2 separate regions of the Homo sapiens genome follow, and region 1 is linked to region 2. The links are contacts of gene promoters, found by promoter capture Hi-C in human tissues and cell types (Jung and others, 2019). All regions are on one chromosome and are shown on one strand. The core of a region is centred on a gene start or on the middle of the fragment in contact, and the rest is flanking DNA. Distances in the headings are between cores, read along the strand shown. Region 1 overlaps DIRC3 (disrupted in renal carcinoma 3). Region 2 holds the start of IGFBP5 (insulin like growth factor binding protein 5).

The links. The method cuts DNA at HindIII sites, captures the fragments that hold promoters and counts their contacts. A contact is called where the count stands out against the background at its distance.
Region 1: a contact is called between a fragment that was not itself captured here and the fragment with the promoter of IGFBP5 in region 2, in 2 of the 25 tissues and cell types used here (bladder and lymphoblastoid cells).

The regions. Positions count from the first base shown.
Region 1 is chr2:217,351,336-217,354,035 of GRCh38, forward strand. The region is part of intron 8 of DIRC3 (disrupted in renal carcinoma 3); the gene reads right to left. Among named protein-coding and RNA genes, the nearest start is that of DIRC3-AS1, 70 kb to the left of the region's middle. The HindIII fragment of the contact is 3,014 bases long and covers 1-2,700 here.
Region 2 is chr2:216,694,157-216,696,856 of GRCh38, forward strand. IGFBP5 (insulin like growth factor binding protein 5) reads right to left here and starts at 1,393. Exons shown (of 4, transcript NM_000599.4): 1 at 283-1,393. The coding sequence starts at 619. It overlaps IGFBP-AS1 (IGFBP5 antisense RNA 1), which reads left to right and starts at 290. Exons shown (of 6, transcript NR_187138.1): 1 at 290-605. The HindIII fragment of the contact is 12,405 bases long and covers 1-2,700 here.

The sequences.
Region 1 (2,700 bases), core at 41-2,540, 660 kb after region 2:
CTGATGGGTTCTGTGCCCACCAAGGCTCAGACTGCAATGGCAGTATGGTGGTGGGGGTTAGGGTGTTGGGGGGCACTCACATTGGCAGCAGCGGCAGGGCAGGATGCACGCTCACACGCATGCTGGCAGGTCAGGGAAGGCAAAATCTGCCCAGGCACACACGTGCTGGCAAAGATATGTGGGGGGTGGCCATGGCCCAGGGGAAGCTACAGTGGGCAGAGGGAGTGAGCAAGCTGGTGCATGTCCATGGGGGCTGCTCTGCTGGAGCTCTCTGCTGGTCAGGTGTGGTCCACCAGTGCAGGAGCTGTGATGTAGGCCCCCAGGGCACCCGAGGCTGCACTGCAAGCAGGTGTGGTTCAGCTGGGGCTCTGGGAGAGGCCAGCAGACCAAGGGGTGCACAAGAGCCCTGTCTGATGGGCAAAACCTCCCCTCACAGTTCAGGTCTGACAGTTCCCCTAGGGCTAAAATCTTCTATGGGAAGAAGGCAAGCCTAAGGGGATGGGCATCTACAGCCAACCTCTGCTACAGATGCTCCTGCACCAAACCCTCTGGGCTCTACAGGGACTAGAGTACTGTCCCTACCATTTCTCTGGCAGCTCTCCCTGCCAACTCAAGTGTCTCTGGTTGTAGAGGGGTCTCCCTCTGCCAGGATTCAGGAGATCCATGGCGAGAGCAGGTTGCTCCTTGCCAGATCAACTCACATGTTCTCCCAGTCACTGGGGGCCAAGAACAAGTTCTGGTGTACAGCAGCCCCATGTGGGATTTCCAGCTTCTTTCTCCTTCAGCCCAGCTTCTGTGTCTTCCCTCTGTCCACTCTCAGTGCCTTTCCTCTGAAGATCTGTTAGGAGCATGCCAGTCATCCAGGTACCTCGGTGGCAGCTGTTCCACTTAGCTGAGTCTAGTTGGCCATCTTGCCTCAAATCCCTCCTTTAATATTTCTGTAGATGTCTTCCTATTTAGTTTTACTTAACTATGCTACTTGGTAAAACAATTTATGGAGAACTAATAGTAATAATAACAATACAGTTAATAGTAATAATAACAATAACAACCAGATAGTTTCTACTGAGGATTTTTCAGGTACTATGCTTTGTGCTAAGTCCTGTTCTTGAATAAGCTTATTTAATATTTCTAATTACCCTTGACTTGGGTATCATTATTATTATTTTTTGTTTGTTGGTTTTTGAAGCGGAGTCTCACTGTCTTGCCCAGGCTGGAGTACAGTGGCACAATCTTGGCTCACTGCAACCCCCACCTCCAGGGTTCAAGCAGTTCTCCTGTCTCAGCCTCCCCAGTAGCTGGGACTACAGGCACCAGCCACCATAACTGGCTAATTTTTGTATGTTTAGTAGAGACAGGGTTTCACCATGTTGGCCAGGCTGGTCTCGAACTCCAGACCTCAAGTGATCTGCCTGCCTCAGCCTCTCAAAATGTTGGGATTGTACAGGCATGAGCCACCACTCCTGGCCAACTTGAGTATAATTATTATCCCTATTTTACAGGGAAAACAGAGGTGACTAGGGGTAAAGAAACTTTCCCCAAATCACATTGCTAGCCTGTAGTTCAGTTGGGATTTAAACTTTGGCAGTCTGGCTCGAGATTTACTTTTAGGATTTTGAGGCATGCTTGAATTTGCTTGTGGCTCCTTTCCTTCCCCTGGGCTTCCAAACACAATGGTGTGTTTTGGGAATATTCAAGGGTGCCATTTGAAAGCAACAATGTAAGATTCCTCCAACTCTATACGCTGCCCACTCAAGGTGTGGTCATCCACCTTGCCCAGGGTTGGGAGATGAAGGAACAGGTTCTTTCCTAGCATGTATTGTCCAGATGCTGAGTTTTTCCAAAGGATACTAAAGTCTTTATCTCACCCTACTTTTGACAAAGGGAGTGGTTGAGGTGGTTATGGATGAGGTGTTTCTCCTGCCATGCTACTTCAGCTGGGATGACTTATTGGATGTCTTCCTAATAGTTTGTAGAGCAAAAGAAGTGGAGGGGTTGGGGTTTGTGGGTGATAGGTGTAGAATAAATGGGGGTGGGGCAAGAAGGCAAGATTTGTATTCACACAGGGGACTGCCTTCAGGGTGCCTCATAGTGGAGGCTATTCATCAAAACCACTAGGGCCCCAGGGACATGAAGCCTAGGGATTTAGAGCATATTCCATCAGTTTAATTACTGGTGAGATCTGAGGTTACAAAGGAGAAGCTGATCAAATAGCTGCTGACCTTCTTCTAGCTACACTGACCCCACATATAAGGTTCTCCTAAGTTTATGGGCTCCTCACCTCACCTCTCCTTATTCCCCCTCCCCACATTTTGCAGTTGGTAAAATGACAAGCTTCTTCCAGTTCAATGCTCTTAACCCAAGGAGATAGTAGCTGCCATGGCAGAAATAAAGGCAGCAGATAAATCCAGTTGACAAAAAAGCCCTTACACTCACAGAGGCCTTGTTCCTCATTTCTGCCAGAGTGTTGAGCAGGAAACGAGCAGATATTCCTCCGGTCAGTATTTACTGAACATATGTTTTGTCTCAGGAATAGGAGACATAGCATTGAAAAAGTCACATAGGGCTCCTACCTTCCTAGAGTTTAAGGTACGAGAAGTCTTAAAGAAGCACCACGAGTTAGAATATGAAATGCTGTTCATATGAAACAGACATGATAGGGGAAGTATAGGGTATATGGGATCCCAGAACAGGAAGGTA
Region 2 (2,700 bases), core at 143-2,642:
GAGCTCAGAATCAGTATTCGGACAGAGTAGGGGGAGGGGGCGGGCAACGTGTGGGTAGGAGGAAGGAGAAAGAGCGAAAGCTGGGATAGACTCGGCTAGACAGTTCCCCCGGGTAGCAGGATCCTCCAGGGCTCCAATTCCGGGGTGCAAGGACCCTCCCCGACTACTCCCGAGCTGCACCCCAGCTCGAAGCCACTTGCTGCGCAAAGCGCGCGGGCCCAGCCGGTCTCGTGTCCCCCGCCCGTGCGCCGCGTAACTGACTGGCACACTGAGCGCGCTCACCGATCTTGACTTGCTCGCGGTAGCTCTTTTCGTTGAGGCAAACCCCGCGGCCGTGCAGCAGGGCGTGCAGCGGCTTCTCCTCGTCCTGCCGGGGGAGGCAGCGCAGCCCCTGGGCGCAGCGCTCGGTGTAGACGCCGCACGACTGCCCCTCGGCCAGGGCGCAGGTCATGCAGCAGCCGCAGCCCGGCTCCTTGACCAGCTCGCAGCCCAGGGGGCTGGGGGGGCACATGGAGAGGGCTTTCTCGTCGCAGGGCTCGCAGTGCACGAAGGAGCCCAGGCTCTGGGCCGGCCCCGCATAGGCGGCCAGCAGCAGGAGGACCGCGGTGAGCAACACCATCTTCTCTTAGTCGCCCCCTTTACCTCGGGGTGGGGCAGGAGAGCGAGAGTGCAGGGATAAAGGGGCCAAGAGGGCCCCCGGAGATTTTTTTGTTTTTGTTTTTGTTTTAAAATTTCTGGCAGGTAGAGCAGGTGCCCTCCCCCAGACACTTGCAAAAATGTAGAGAGAGGTGGAGGGCTGGGGTGCCTGCGAGCAGGTCCCAGTTGCAAGAATTAAAGCCTTGCAACAGGTTGGGGGAAGCAGGGCAGCGCCAGGTGCACGCAGTGAGCGGAGGCCGGAGAAACCCTCAAGCCTGAGCGGGTCAGAATTATAGGGGAAAAAAAGCCACAAAATTGTTCACCCCCAAGCAACCACCGAAATAATGAGATCGGATGCAGTGGAGATGGCGTTGGGGGTGGGAGAGAAAAATGGATTTATCTTTAAAATTTTTGCTTAAAATCTAAAATACACCCCGCTTTCTAACCCTCAGCTGCCAGCGGTGCGCGGCGCCGCAGAACAGGTAAGAGGCGTTGGCTGCAGCCGAGAGGGTGGGAGAAAATGTTGAAATCAAGAAATTAAAAAACAAAAACAAAAACAAAAAAACCCCAAACCCTAACACCTCTTTTCTCCCACTTTGCCACCTCCTCTTCGAAATTCGCAGGTTCTACGCGAAGTCCGGAGAAGGGTGAAAACGGAGGAGGGGTAATGAAAAGGAGCAAAAAAGGGAAAAAGCCCACACTGCTTTGCAGCTCTTTCCTAGCTCTTTTCCCCTGCAGAAGTTTCCAAAGAGACTACGGGGCTCCGGGAGAGCAGGCGCTTTTAAATAGCCGGCCCCTGGCTGCCAGCCAGTTTGTAGCTGCAATTTGAGCTTCCCAACACCCAACTCAGGCAAGGATGCCAAGGAGCTTTGCAGTACAAACTCACACGGGGTGGGGGTGGGGAGAGGCCTTCTAGACACAAGGGGGCTCCCCTTCGCTCCCTGAACAGCGCCCTCCTCCCCTCTGAACAGCGCCCTCCTCCCCCCGGAATGTAAGAAAGGGGCAAGGGGGACAGGCTGGGGCTACCGAGAATGGGGAGGAGGTGGAGGGGCCAGTGGAAGACAGAGTTCTTCGGAGCAGGGTGAACACAATGAGGAGAGTAACTTCGTCTCCCCTTCCCTCCTATCCTTTAAGTAGTCAAGGCACAGGCTGAAGGGAGACGTATTTTCTTATTAGCCAACTGGATATACCGTGCCCAAGAAATCTTCCTAAGCTTCTGCAATTGACTGTATGCTGGTGTCTGTTTCCATGTGGGGTGTGTGTGTGTGTGTGTTTGGGGGACAGGTAGTGTAGAATGGCCAGTGATGTCTGGTGAGCTAAATTTAAAAAAGAAGAAAAAATTGAATTTCTCCCCTAAAAGTCTGGAGAAGAGGATTTAATCAGGGGGTTTCAGTACTCATGATGAAGAGGTGACCAGTTGCCTTCAGCTGCGTTGGCCAGGGAGGTTCTCTCTCTCTTTCTCTCTCTCTGTGTGTGTGTGTGTATGTGTGTGTGTTGTGTATCTGCAGGAATGGACATTCATACAACAGCATTATTGAGAGCAGTGAGTTGCAGAGATGGACACTTTGGAGGAAATGCTAAGTCTGAAAACCTTGCATGGTGGCCTAAAGTGTCCTTGTGTGTGGGGTTCTTAGAGGGAAGAAAGGTGGATTGGAGTGACACTTCCCTCTCTGTCACTTTGCAGAGGTATTTCTATTGGGCAGGGCCACATCCCTGGAGGGAGTGGGTGGCAGAGTAGCTGGAGGAGACCTTGTGATAGGTTGACAGGTTAGTTGGTGCTTATAGGCACATCCCAGGAATATGAGCTGACAGGGCCACAGGACCTGCTTGGAAGAGGTCCTGACCAGGAACCGAATCATGCCACTAGAACCTCTTTAATAAAATGAAAGAAAACTAAGGCCTTGAAATAGGAAGGTGGTGGTTTTAGCTTTTTCTGAAATTGACCTGAGTGAGCCATGAGCCTCACAGGCAAGTCAGAGAGAAATGACCAATGTCACTGCCCCTGCTGGGTGGACTTGGTGTGGGCTGTTACACCTTTTACATTGTGCTTCCTCCCTTGAGAAG